2 separate regions of the Homo sapiens genome follow, and region 2 is linked to region 1. The links are contacts of gene promoters, found by promoter capture Hi-C in blood cells and fetal thymus (Javierre and others, 2016). All regions are on one chromosome and are shown on one strand. The core of a region is centred on a gene start or on the middle of the fragment in contact, and the rest is flanking DNA. Distances in the headings are between cores, read along the strand shown.

The links. Contacts are between HindIII fragments. The CHiCAGO score rates a contact against its expected background, and 5 or more counts as called.
Region 2: a contact is called between a fragment that was not itself captured here and the fragment with the promoter of EOMES in region 1, in 6 of 17 cell types (total CD8 T cells, non-activated CD4 T cells, naive CD8 T cells and 3 more). The highest score is 17.4, in total CD8 T cells.

What each region holds. Positions count from the first base shown.
Region 1 is chr3:27,719,510-27,725,277 of GRCh38, reverse strand. It overlaps EOMES (eomesodermin), which reads left to right and starts at 2,955. Exons shown (of 6, transcript NM_001278182.2): 1 at 2,955-3,864; 2 at 4,953-5,107. The coding sequence starts at 2,984. RefSeq lists an enhancer at 1-774 and a silencer at 3,320-3,529. The HindIII fragment of the contact is 2,734 bases long and covers 1,974-4,707 here.
Region 2 is chr3:27,905,856-27,911,623 of GRCh38, reverse strand. No RefSeq gene overlaps it. Among named protein-coding and RNA genes, the nearest start is that of LINC01981, 75 kb to the right of the region's middle. The HindIII fragment of the contact is 199 bases long and covers 2,090-2,288 here.

The sequences.
Region 1 (5,768 bases), core at 1,706-4,205:
GCTTTTCATTATTTTAAAGAGAATTTGTAACATATACTTACAAATGTAATGTAATACAATATGTAATATAATATTATGTACATATTTTCCATGTTCCAAAAATCCTGGGTCCTAGAGTAGTTTTATAGAAACTGAATTTTTATTCTCTTTGAATTTGTCTTTGCTCCTCCATATGTAAAATGTGTTGAAGTTTGGGAAAAATAATAGATTTACTGGGGAAGTGGGTAGATATCAACCAAAATTTCCTGTCCCCAAGAATCAATACAAATTCTAATTATATACATCGTGTGTATATTTAATAATTAGGTGGTGCTCATACTGAACTCATGCGCTTTCAAAAGCTTGCTCTGGGGCTGGAATAAAATCAACGCTTTCTGATGTGGCTCGGGGGACAGCTGGCCCGCGTTATTCGCGCCAGAGTGGGTCGGAACGATGCCTGTTGCCTGCGATGGCACTTTGCCACGCGAAGCGCTTCCCTGGCTGCGTCAAAAGCATTTTGAAGGGACGCCGAGGCCCGCTTCTTGCTTTGTTAAAGCGCAAAACTGTCATGTACCTTTGGCCACCCTAGCTCCAAATAACGTGAGATTAGGTCTCACATTAGGGAGATTTCTCATCCCTACTTTTGCCTTAGATATCTTGCAACTCAGGTAAAGGATAATGTGGAGGATCCTACGAATAGTAATCAGGACCCGCTAGCCCAGGGATAGATACGTCGTCCAAGCCGCCCAAGCTGCACGGCCTCTTTCTTTCCTTGAGCTCGCGTACCCCTCACGGGATCTTCACGTTGACAGTCATGAGGTATTCACAGAGCTATACTACTTGAACAATCAATGTTCTAGACTTCCTTGGGTCAAAATAACACTAAAGCAGGGGAGGAAGGCATGGACAATGTAGTGATCAAAACAGCCGTGCCAAACACTAACTATACTGATGACACAAAACGCAGGAAGCGCAGGGCAGAACGCGCTCAGTACCAGCTTTCTGGCGATCTGCTCCTGGCCACTCTGTCCCAGGACCTACAAGGCCACCGCCCCAGCCCACTAGTCTCAACTTGCCCCCTCCCCTGTGGCTGTGCCTTGACCCTGAAAATCTTCGCGCACTCCTGGGTTTCACCACCACACACACGCGAGCGCGCGAGCGCGCGAACACACACATCAAAAAAGAAAAAAAAAACCGTGATAAATGCCCTGGAGAGTCTAAGTGCATTAAGGACCTCGTTCTCGGAGACCCCAGACATGCCGATGTTGGTGCTGCTGTGGTTGGAAAACTGGGTTGGAAAGCTTCGCACTGTTCTACACTTGCGTGTGCGCACTCAGCAATCCTTTGGCCATCTCATCTGTTGTGGGCGAAGAGTTTCCCGTGTGATCGCGTTCGGTTGGGGAAGCAGAGTCCCGACATCTCAGCCGGAAAATGCGCTCCCGGAGCGATTACTGGCGGCGTCTGTAATTGCTTATTAACAGCGAATATTCAGGCTTCTCCTTATCCGCAACGAAACGTGCCCCCCGCTTCCGTAATAATGAAACGATAAAATATGACGGCCCCGCTCTTGAATCTATCTGAGGAAACGCAGCGAAGAAACAAGCAGCTGGAGTTTAATTCAATATCAAACTGATTATTTCACTAATTATTCTACCTTCTGTATTTGCCGCAGAGCAGAGGCGCAGGGAATCCTAACTGTGGGGCTGTTAGGGAAGCTTTGTTTCTTGGTGTCAGGCCTAACTGAAGATGGTGGTGAAGGGACGGAATCCGGGATCAGGAAAACTGAGCAGAAAGGATTTTAAATTGTGGGGAATAAAAGTGACTGTCTCCCCGAAAGCAGTTGTGTTGGCGTGAGTATGAAGTTGGTGTTAGCTCGCTTAGTTTCACTCTTGTCCTGTCCCCAGTACCCTGTCCAAGCTTCTGATTTAGAAGCTGAGAGCTTAGGTCCTCCAGGATGGCAATGTGCTCTGGCCGTCCCCGGAATCCCAAAAGCTTAGCGCGAGTTTCCTCTCTACAAACCTTTCCCACTGGGTAAAAGGATGGGAACAAACAAAAAGTGGTTCTGTGCGTTGAAGGCCAGGGAGTTTGCCTTCGACAAGAGGAAGGTGTGCTTTGAAGTTACAGCTTCCGACGAGGAAAGAGACTTCCTTGGGCCTGTCTCCAACTTGCCCCAGTTTCCCCAGCCTCCGGGACGGGCGCTTCCCTGCAAGCTATCAGCTTGAAGAGTCTTTCTCTCTCTGGCCTCTAAAATCTGCTCCAGCCATCTCATTCCTCCAGCGGAGGGCTGAGATGACTAATGCGCCAAGGGTGGACACCGCTATGGAGACCCCAAACTTTGTCCCCCTAAATTCCGGCGAAATTACAGACACCAGGATTGATTATCACAGCGGGACGCAGTCTCAAAAAAAAAAAAAAAAAAAAAAAAAAAAAAAGGAAAAGAAAGTCACAGGCGACTTGATCCAATTAGTAAATGCCTAATTGAATTAGTGTCACCTCCACCAGCCAATAGGAGGGTCTCCGGGCTGTGAGGCCGGGAAGCCCCTCCCTGGCCGCAAATATATAAAGCAGCTAGTGACAGCCCATAAGTTTCCAAGTGGTCAACTTGACCGATGCTTTGGCAATTGAAAAAGGGCAGAAAGGCGCGGGCTAGTGGGTGGATGGGGACAAAGATCTAAGTCACCTTCTTCCAGCGTGTGAGCCTGGGAGGAGGGTGGGGGTCCTGAGGAGCAAGAGGTACGAGGAAGGAAAAGGAGAGGGCTTCTGGGTTAGTTTCCACCTCCTGCTTTCCAACTCACGGCGCTTTCCTTCCGGAAAGGACGCTGGATTCAGGGCGCGCCAGTACGCGCAGTAGCGGCCCGCGAGTCGGCAGGTGGGTAGCCCCGGCGCGGGAGGAAGGGGAAGTTACCTTCCCCTCGGAAGAGGGCGCTGGCTCCCCCATCCTGCCTTTATAATAAGGCCACCGGAGGAGAGGAAGCAGCCAGCTGCCGTCTGCGCTTTGCAAAGCATGCAGTTAGGGGAGCAGCTCTTGGTGAGCTCAGTGAACCTGCCTGGCGCGCACTTCTACCCGCTGGAGAGTGCGCGAGGCGGCAGCGGCGGGAGCGCTGGCCACCTCCCCAGCGCGGCCCCCTCTCCTCAGAAGTTGGACTTAGACAAAGCGTCCAAGAAGTTTTCCGGCAGTCTCTCCTGCGAGGCGGTGAGCGGGGAGCCCGCAGCCGCCAGCGCAGGGGCCCCCGCGGCCATGCTTAGTGACACCGACGCCGGGGACGCATTTGCCAGCGCTGCGGCAGTGGCCAAGCCGGGGCCCCCGGACGGCCGCAAGGGCTCCCCCTGCGGGGAGGAGGAGCTGCCCTCCGCCGCTGCAGCCGCCGCCGCCGCCGCCGCCGCGGCTGCGGCCACTGCGCGCTACTCCATGGACAGCCTGAGCTCCGAGCGGTACTACCTCCAGTCCCCCGGTCCTCAGGGGTCGGAGCTGGCTGCGCCCTGCTCACTCTTCCCGTACCAGGCGGCGGCTGGGGCGCCCCACGGACCTGTGTACCCGGCTCCTAACGGGGCGCGCTACCCCTACGGCTCCATGCTGCCCCCCGGCGGCTTCCCCGCGGCTGTGTGCCCACCCGGGAGGGCGCAGTTCGGCCCAGGAGCCGGTGCGGGCAGTGGCGCGGGCGGTAGCAGCGGCGGGGGCGGCGGCCCGGGCACCTATCAGTACAGCCAGGGGGCTCCGCTCTACGGGCCGTACCCTGGAGCCGCAGCGGCGGGATCTTGCGGAGGACTGGGGGGCCTGGGGGTTCCAGGTTCTGGCTTCCGTGCCCACGTCTACCTGTGCAACCGGCCTCTGTGGCTCAAATTCCACCGCCACCAAACTGAGATGATCATTACGAAACAGGGCAGGTGAGCGCAGCGTGGAGGGGCCCCTGGGTTCGGGGATAAAGGGTGACGTGTGGTCCTGGGGAAGGTCCGGGATGAGGGAGCTGAACCCAGTTGTTCCGCGCGGTGCTTAGAGTGTTTCACCGCGCGCAATAAATCTCCGTAGACACCGCATCTCCAATGCGGTGTCCCTCTGTGTCAGTGCCCCGGCGGCTCTTGCAGGGTGCCAATGTTACGGCTGTACACCGCTTTTCCCTCCCATCATCCTCACCTGAACAGACCTGGAGGAGGCGGAAATGGAAATTAGGGCATGTCCACAAGCTGGATTCGTTAGATCCTCCTGCTCGGCGGTATGCTTGTGCATGCCTGCATGCCGGCAAGGAGCCACGGATAGGGAAGGCTCAAGAGCTGGCCACCTGAGCGCAGTAGATGGGCTCCCGCAGTTTTAGGCGCCAGGGTCTCCACGGGGCGTCTCCGGGAGGTGGGCATGAAGGCTAGAGCGCCGGCCTCGGAAGCTCGGTCGGAGTAGGTGGTTAGATCTGCCCTGGAGCCAGACCTGGCTCGGGTTCGGTGCGCGAGAAAGTTCTGATATACATCCAACTGCTAACACTGGCTACTTCTGGGGAAAGGGAGGGGTGGGTGCTGAGAGAGGGGCACTCAAAGGGGACTTTTAGCCTAAAGTTTTAATATATATTTTTAACAAGAATAACCTAATATTGTTCTCTGGTACTTTTCAAAATGGTGCATTTAAAAATTAGTAGTTTTTAACATTCTAGGAGAAAAATTTTAAGAGCGTCTGAAAGGGCCGAGAATATGAGCCTTCGGAAGCACGCGCGAATTTGGAATATACCGATGTTGGGGCAAGCTTTTTTTTTTTTTTTTTTTTTTTTTTTTTTTTTTTTTTTTGAAAAGACGGAAAGGTTCCAAGAGTTGCCAACTCAAAAATATTTTACATAGTTTCAGACCACTTGATCTACCAGCATTCTGTTCACTGCAAACTTTTAAATGTGTTCCGACCCTATCCCAGGTGTCTGGGGAACCCGCTGGGGCCTGGGCCTGTTCTAGGACATCCCAATTAAAATCGATTTTTCTGATTCTATTCCCTTGCACAGGCGCATGTTTCCTTTCTTGAGCTTCAACATAAACGGACTCAATCCCACTGCCCACTACAATGTGTTCGTAGAGGTGGTGCTGGCGGACCCCAACCACTGGCGCTTCCAGGGGGGCAAATGGGTGACCTGTGGCAAAGCCGACAATAACATGCAGGGTGAGCAGAGAAGAGGCTCGGGCCGGGGAGGAACGGGCGGGAAGAAATCGTAACCCTCGACTCACACAACTCACATTTAAATGTAGCACTTTTTTTTTCCCCTTCCATTCTGAGGCCTAGAGGTGTTAGTATGAGTGTCTTTGAGTTGCTTGTTTGACGGAGAGGAGAGTTTGCTAAGTCAGATTTCTTGTCTGCCAATATGTAGATATTTAGAACCTTTAACTAAGACATCACCCCACCCCCCAATCCCTACGTTTAACAAATCAGTAGTCATAAGCTCTCCAGGTGGGAAGGGCTCCTGGGATTCTAATGTTCACTTGAGAAAGCCCAGCCAAAGTTTAGTTCACCCATAAATATCCAACTGTCTTCCATCGGATGTTGCCCTTACAGCTTTAGAAGGCCCCAAATTGACCTTCAAGAGTCATCTCTTGTTAGCTCCGTTTCTAAATTCTGAAATGCCATTCAGGGGAGTCCCTAGTGCAAGGAAGGTTGGAAGCACAGGGGCCTGGGAGGGATATGGATGTAGTCCTGCTGGTCTCCACTGGCCTCTTTAAGCAACTTTTACTGGGAGACCAACTGTAAGTCTAGCTCTTATATCTTGCTCATAGCTAAGAGACATCCCTCCGCTTTCTCCATTTGTAAACAGCCCTATATGCTTGGG
Region 2 (5,768 bases), core at 940-3,439, 190 kb before region 1:
TGCCCTAGTAATAATGACAATAATAATAAAAATAATAACTTGTATTATCCTAGCTAGTATTTATTCAGTGCTTAGGATGTGAAGGTACCTTACATGGATTATCTCATTTAATAATATATTTTATTATCTTATGTTTCAACAGAAGGGATTATTGGGACTTAAAGATATAAGGTCTTACATCCGTGTGATCTAAAGCCATACAACTACTAAATGGTGGAGTCAGGGTCCTTTATTAGGTGTTTGGAATAATAACATTTACAAGAGAAAGACCTGCAGAGATTCATATGATGAATGTAACCAGGGATCAGATGGGATCTTTATATACCCAAGTTCTGAAAAATTTATTCTGCTTCTACCTCACCTTCAACATGTAACTCAAATTAAAGGCAATACTGAACTATAAAGTAAATAACAGAAAACACAAAAACATTCAACATTCTGGTTTTTCCTATGAAGGCTGCTGCAATACTTTTTTGAATTATTTAATATCAAATTGTTTTAGTGAATCTCTTTTCCCAATATCAAAATTATTAGGCTGTGTCATATGAAACTGTCATTTTTGTAGGTCAAAAGTTGTCAAATGTTAGTGATTTCTTTTGGTTACACCTAATCTAATCTGCCTATTGGTAAGGTCAGTCCTGAATACATGGACATTTGTGAGCCTCTGTGCTTTTCTGATTTCCTATCCCATTGGTAAGTAGTTTCCCTTAAAAGTAAGAAAAAGAACAAACATACAGAGATAGGGAGGAAGAATATTTTTATGACCATCATCTTTCTTTGTAAGCACCACACATTCTTTGTTTTTCTAAAAATATGAGGCAATTTCAAATCAGACTTAGTGCTAGATTTATAATATTTTCCACTTATTCTGCCATCTCTTTAAGAATTTCCCTAACTGGGAGGATGGGAGGAGAGACTTCCCATAATTCCTTGCCCATCCAACTGCCTGCCCTGGTCCCCGCTTGCCAAATCCTTTACTGTGGTTTTCTGATGTGAGCTATTATCCTTGAGAGTCCCAGAGCTGAGACGTGAACTCCGTTTCTTGGAGGGCTCAACCAGAATTCCCTAAAGTGAAAGCTCAGTCTTTTACCCACGAAGCTCCTTCTTTTTGTAGTTAATCAACTGGCTAAATCCTCTGAAGTGAAAAAATGCACATTTTGTTGTCTGTGACTTACTGAAGCTGAATGCTTCTCACAATGGCAAAGTCCATGAAACAACTATATATTAGGGATGAGTGATTTCTCACACTTAATCTGTTTCTATCCAAGACTGCCAAGTTGGTCCACTGGGCCTTGGAACTGCGATATCACATTTCCCACATTTCTTGCCTTTTCTTCTACTTGTGCTCCATTATTTATTAAGGCCTTGAGTACACCTGGGGTTTGTCCCCAATGGGGGTCAGACTTTTCAGGCCCTCCCTCATTCTCAGAAGTTGGATTTTTATAAGGGTGTGAAAGACTTCTACCCCTGCAGTTCCACAATTGGGCTGTTATTAAGAATAGAAATAGAGACACGAAAGCTCCACTGAGAGAAGTTACTTCCAAGACTTGAGGTCCACAGGCCAATATGCCACCTTTTAAGATTTATTTTCTTCCTACTCTGTGTTATGGCAAAGTCTGATCAATCGTGTGTCTCTCTCCATTAAGACACTTTCGCTTGCAAGTAATAGAAAACTTACAGGGATTCCTCCTCTCCCCCTATTCCTCGCAAGTCACTTTAAAATCCAGGGGTAAATTAGTGTTTCTGGAATAGCTGGACACAGAGGTCAAAAATTGTCATAAGCCCTCAGGTTCTCCCCATCTCTTATTTTTACTTTTTTAAAATTCACTTCTCTCTCTAGCAGTGTAGCAGAAGCTGTCCGTTTTCTACACATCATCCTCATACACCTTAACCTAGCAATGCTTTCTCTTCTGAGAGATAGCACCTGTGCTTTGCCTTCATGCTCTAAAGCCAATATTGGCAAGTACTGCCCTGAATGCTAGAATAGCCTAGGAATTTAAGTTCTCCAGGGGTAGACCTTAACCAATGACTGGCAGGGGCAGAGTTCCCTGATGAGAACAACTTCACAGTTGAGATTGGCCCCAAAGCTTTCCCACCTCCCTCAGAACTTAGCCAAAGCTGCCATTTATGGGGCTTTTCTTGATATTGCATCCTTGCTTGGTCTCCCTGCTTTCCCAATCTGACTCCCATATCTCCCTCAGATTTCCCTGGAAACAAATCTTTGTATTAGGGAATCCCACCAAAGACAGGCAGATTCCTTTTCCCTGTTCATCCCAATATTTCAAGCTTACCTCTTTCCAGCCTAAAATCCAAAGCTATTAAAGCAAAAGTCCCTTCACTTAATCTAATTTGACTTTGATTGCCTTGGCTCAGGTACTCACCCTAAGTCAATAGTAGTTGACACAAGGAGGCATACCATGTTTGTCCAGCTCTGAATGACATGTCCTCCCCTGGATTTAGAGGAGAGGGCTTTGACATTTGTGACATTTGCGAGCCTCTGTCCCTGAACCACACAGACTGGGTAGTAGAGCTGGTGGTATAGGGGTCATTCTGGAGGAAAATGGGGCCTCTTATTGGAAAAACAAGACATGGATGCTTCGAGACAATACAGCAAGGGTTAGCAAACTATAGTCCACGATCCCTGTTTTTGTAAATAAAGTTTTACTGGAATATCATCACACTCATATGTTTATGCATTATATACAGCTACTTTCAAGAACCACAGCAGAGTTGAGTAGTTGCCACAGATAATATATGGCCTGAATAGCCTAAAATATTTATTATCTTGTCTTTTGAAGGAAAAGTTTTCTGACCCTGAACTATGCTATTATTTTGGAATGCACTCTGATGTCAGTTTGTGGCACATCCTAAGGAAAACACCGAGAAGTAATTCATTGGTATCATCACACTTTTAGTCAGTTTTAAGCTGTTTTCTGCAGGCCTCCGAATTAAGGGAGAGCTAGATATGCCGCAGTGATTGGCAAACTGTGCCTCCTGACACCCTGGGTTTCCTAGGGAGGTCTTGGGGAGCAGGGCACTGCAGAGTGAGGGAAGGCCCCTGACACAGGGCTCCCAGAGCCCGGCCCCATTTCACATTTATCTGTTTACCCAGTGTATTAAACATGTGGGGCTCATGGGTTGTGAAGAGAGAGACAACTTTGCTTTCGTCTCTCAGTCTTGTTCCAGGAGAATAGCCTTTTTCCGCCTCTGGATGCAAAGTAAGGCAGTCACATGACTTTTCTGTTAATTCTTACATACTGGAAAGTCCTATAGTCATCGTAAGTCACAAACAGTTTTAATTGAGAGATTAAAGTGTGGACTATCAAGTCACATTTGAACAAAGATGAGGTTTCTAACCCCACCCACCAGCCCACTACTGCCTTCAGGGAAATGAGTGTGGTCAGCCTCTTCCCCTCTTCTCACTCTCCAAGTGCCCCTCACACTCGTTCTTGCTCCTGGCGTCCTCCCCTGTCCAACTCCTCATGGGAACAGAGAGGAGGGTGAAGACTTAAGGGGACAGGAATGCTTTGACTCACCTGCGATTCGCATAGCTTTGTGTTCTCCAGGCCTCACTGGAATTCAAAACCAACCTTTTCCCTCAAGAACCACTTTGTGTGCCTGCTTTGGAAACTTCTCAATATTGGGAATATTTTTAGGTTCAATTCTGGGCAAGGACCTACAAATATAAATGTAAGAAGTACCTCAGACAAGCAGGACAAATTAAATGTAATAAGAAAGCACCTTTATTTTATTTTTATTTATGTATTTATTTATTTGAGACAGGGTTTCTCTACTGTCACCCAGCCTGGAGTGTAGTGGTGCGCTCTTGGCTCACTACAACCTCTACCTCCCAGTTTTGAGCGATTCTTCTGCCTCAGCCTCCCGAATAGCTGAGAGTACAGGCACCTGCCACCATGCCCGGCTAATTTTTGTATTTTTAGTAGAGACAGGGTTTCACCATGTTGGCCAGGCTGGTCTCGGAACTCCTGACCTCAGGTGATCTGCCCACCTCAGCCTCCTAAAGTGCTAGGATTACAGGTGTGAGCCACTGTGACCAGCCTCATTTTTATTTTTGTCTCTTGCTGTCCCTTTAAAATTTATTCTGGGGAGGACATTCTTTCCCAGTGACTAGATAAAAACTGACTGAATATTGTGCCTTTTCTGGTCACACAATTAATAGAAAATTCTGCAGTTACCTTATATTACAACCTCATTTCAATAATTAAAATAATTAAAAATTATTAAGTAATTTTAATAATTTAATAATTTTAAAAATAATTAAAAATAATTTTAATAATTTAATAATTTTAAAAATAATTTAAAATAGTTAGAATTATCTAATCCCTTTAACAAAACTCCAAATTTAACTTAGTCTTCTTTGCTCACTCTTCCTTGCTTTACTAATCTCAGTGTCTGACTCTTCCAAAGCTGGAGTCTGGGGAGAAAAGAAATGAAAGGTGAGCAGAAATAATTTTGCTTGACTGATATGAACATAAAATGGTTAGACATTTAAAGAAAACTTGCTCCTAGGCAAATTCACAGCTTCTTTGTAGTTTCCCCTGCTGATCCCCTCTAATTGACTCTACTTGGTCCAGGGTCAGGATTTGGCATACTATTGCAGGCCGACCAAATCCCACCTAGTGCCTGTTTTTATAAATAAAGTTTCATTGGAACATAGCCATGCCCATCCTCTGACATACTGTCTATGCTTGCTTTTGTGTGACGATGACTGAGCTGAATAATTGCAACAGAGACTCTGTGGCCTACAGAGATTAAAATATTTATTCTCTGAGCCTTTACAGAAAAAATTTTTAACCCTTGCCCTAGGCTGTACTTTTCCTTTGACTGACTACTCCTGAAACCCCCTCAGTCAGGTTTGTAAACTATTGGGGTCCCCTTCCCTAACAGGTCATCCTCTAGGAAATAATCGCTTTAAAAATGACTCCAGGTCCCATTCCTCCCATGAATTCCTCATCTAGTCTCTGAAATTCACACTCCTTAACTGCCATCAGGGAGAATGCAATTTTTCCCCACTGTACCCTAAACCCTCTTGCCTCAAGCTGTGTTAGAACTCCCAGGTAAATTGTTCCACCGTGGCCCCAGCTGCTAGGATAGATATGAAGCACTTTGAGTGATCCAGTGACAGCCCCTCTCTCTAGCTCAGGATCAGAAGATAGCACAGCACACTCTTCCACTTTGGGGAAAGGTGGTTGGAACTCCATAGCTATTTCCAATAAAAATCCTTCTATACAATCCATCCAATTTCCCACAAGTAGTTCCTTTCATATATTTAATCTGAATGAGACATTGTTGTGGGTTGGATTCCCTAGAAGCAGAGTCTGAGATATAAATTCCTACTAGGGTTGCCAGATAAGATATAATATCCCAATTAAACTGGAATTTCTGATTAAACACTGAAGGATTTAGTATGAGTATGTCCCTAATATTGCATAGGACACATTTATATTAAAATATTATTTTTTATGTATCTGAAATTCAAATTTAAATGAGTGTCTTGCATGTGTTTATTTGTTTTTCTTTAATCTGCAACTCTAATTCTCATTTAAGTGATTGACTGAAGGAGCACACTCAGGTGAAAGGGAACGGGGGAAGCAAAATGGGGCAGAAGGAAGAAGCTAAGCAAAGATGTGGTCTCAGCTGGGGACAGGCCTCAATCAGATGCCATGGGGAGCTGTGGAATATGAACTGTACCACATAGTGTGTCTCACCTTGAGGCAAGCGGTCTGCCTTTGACACCTCCATATGAG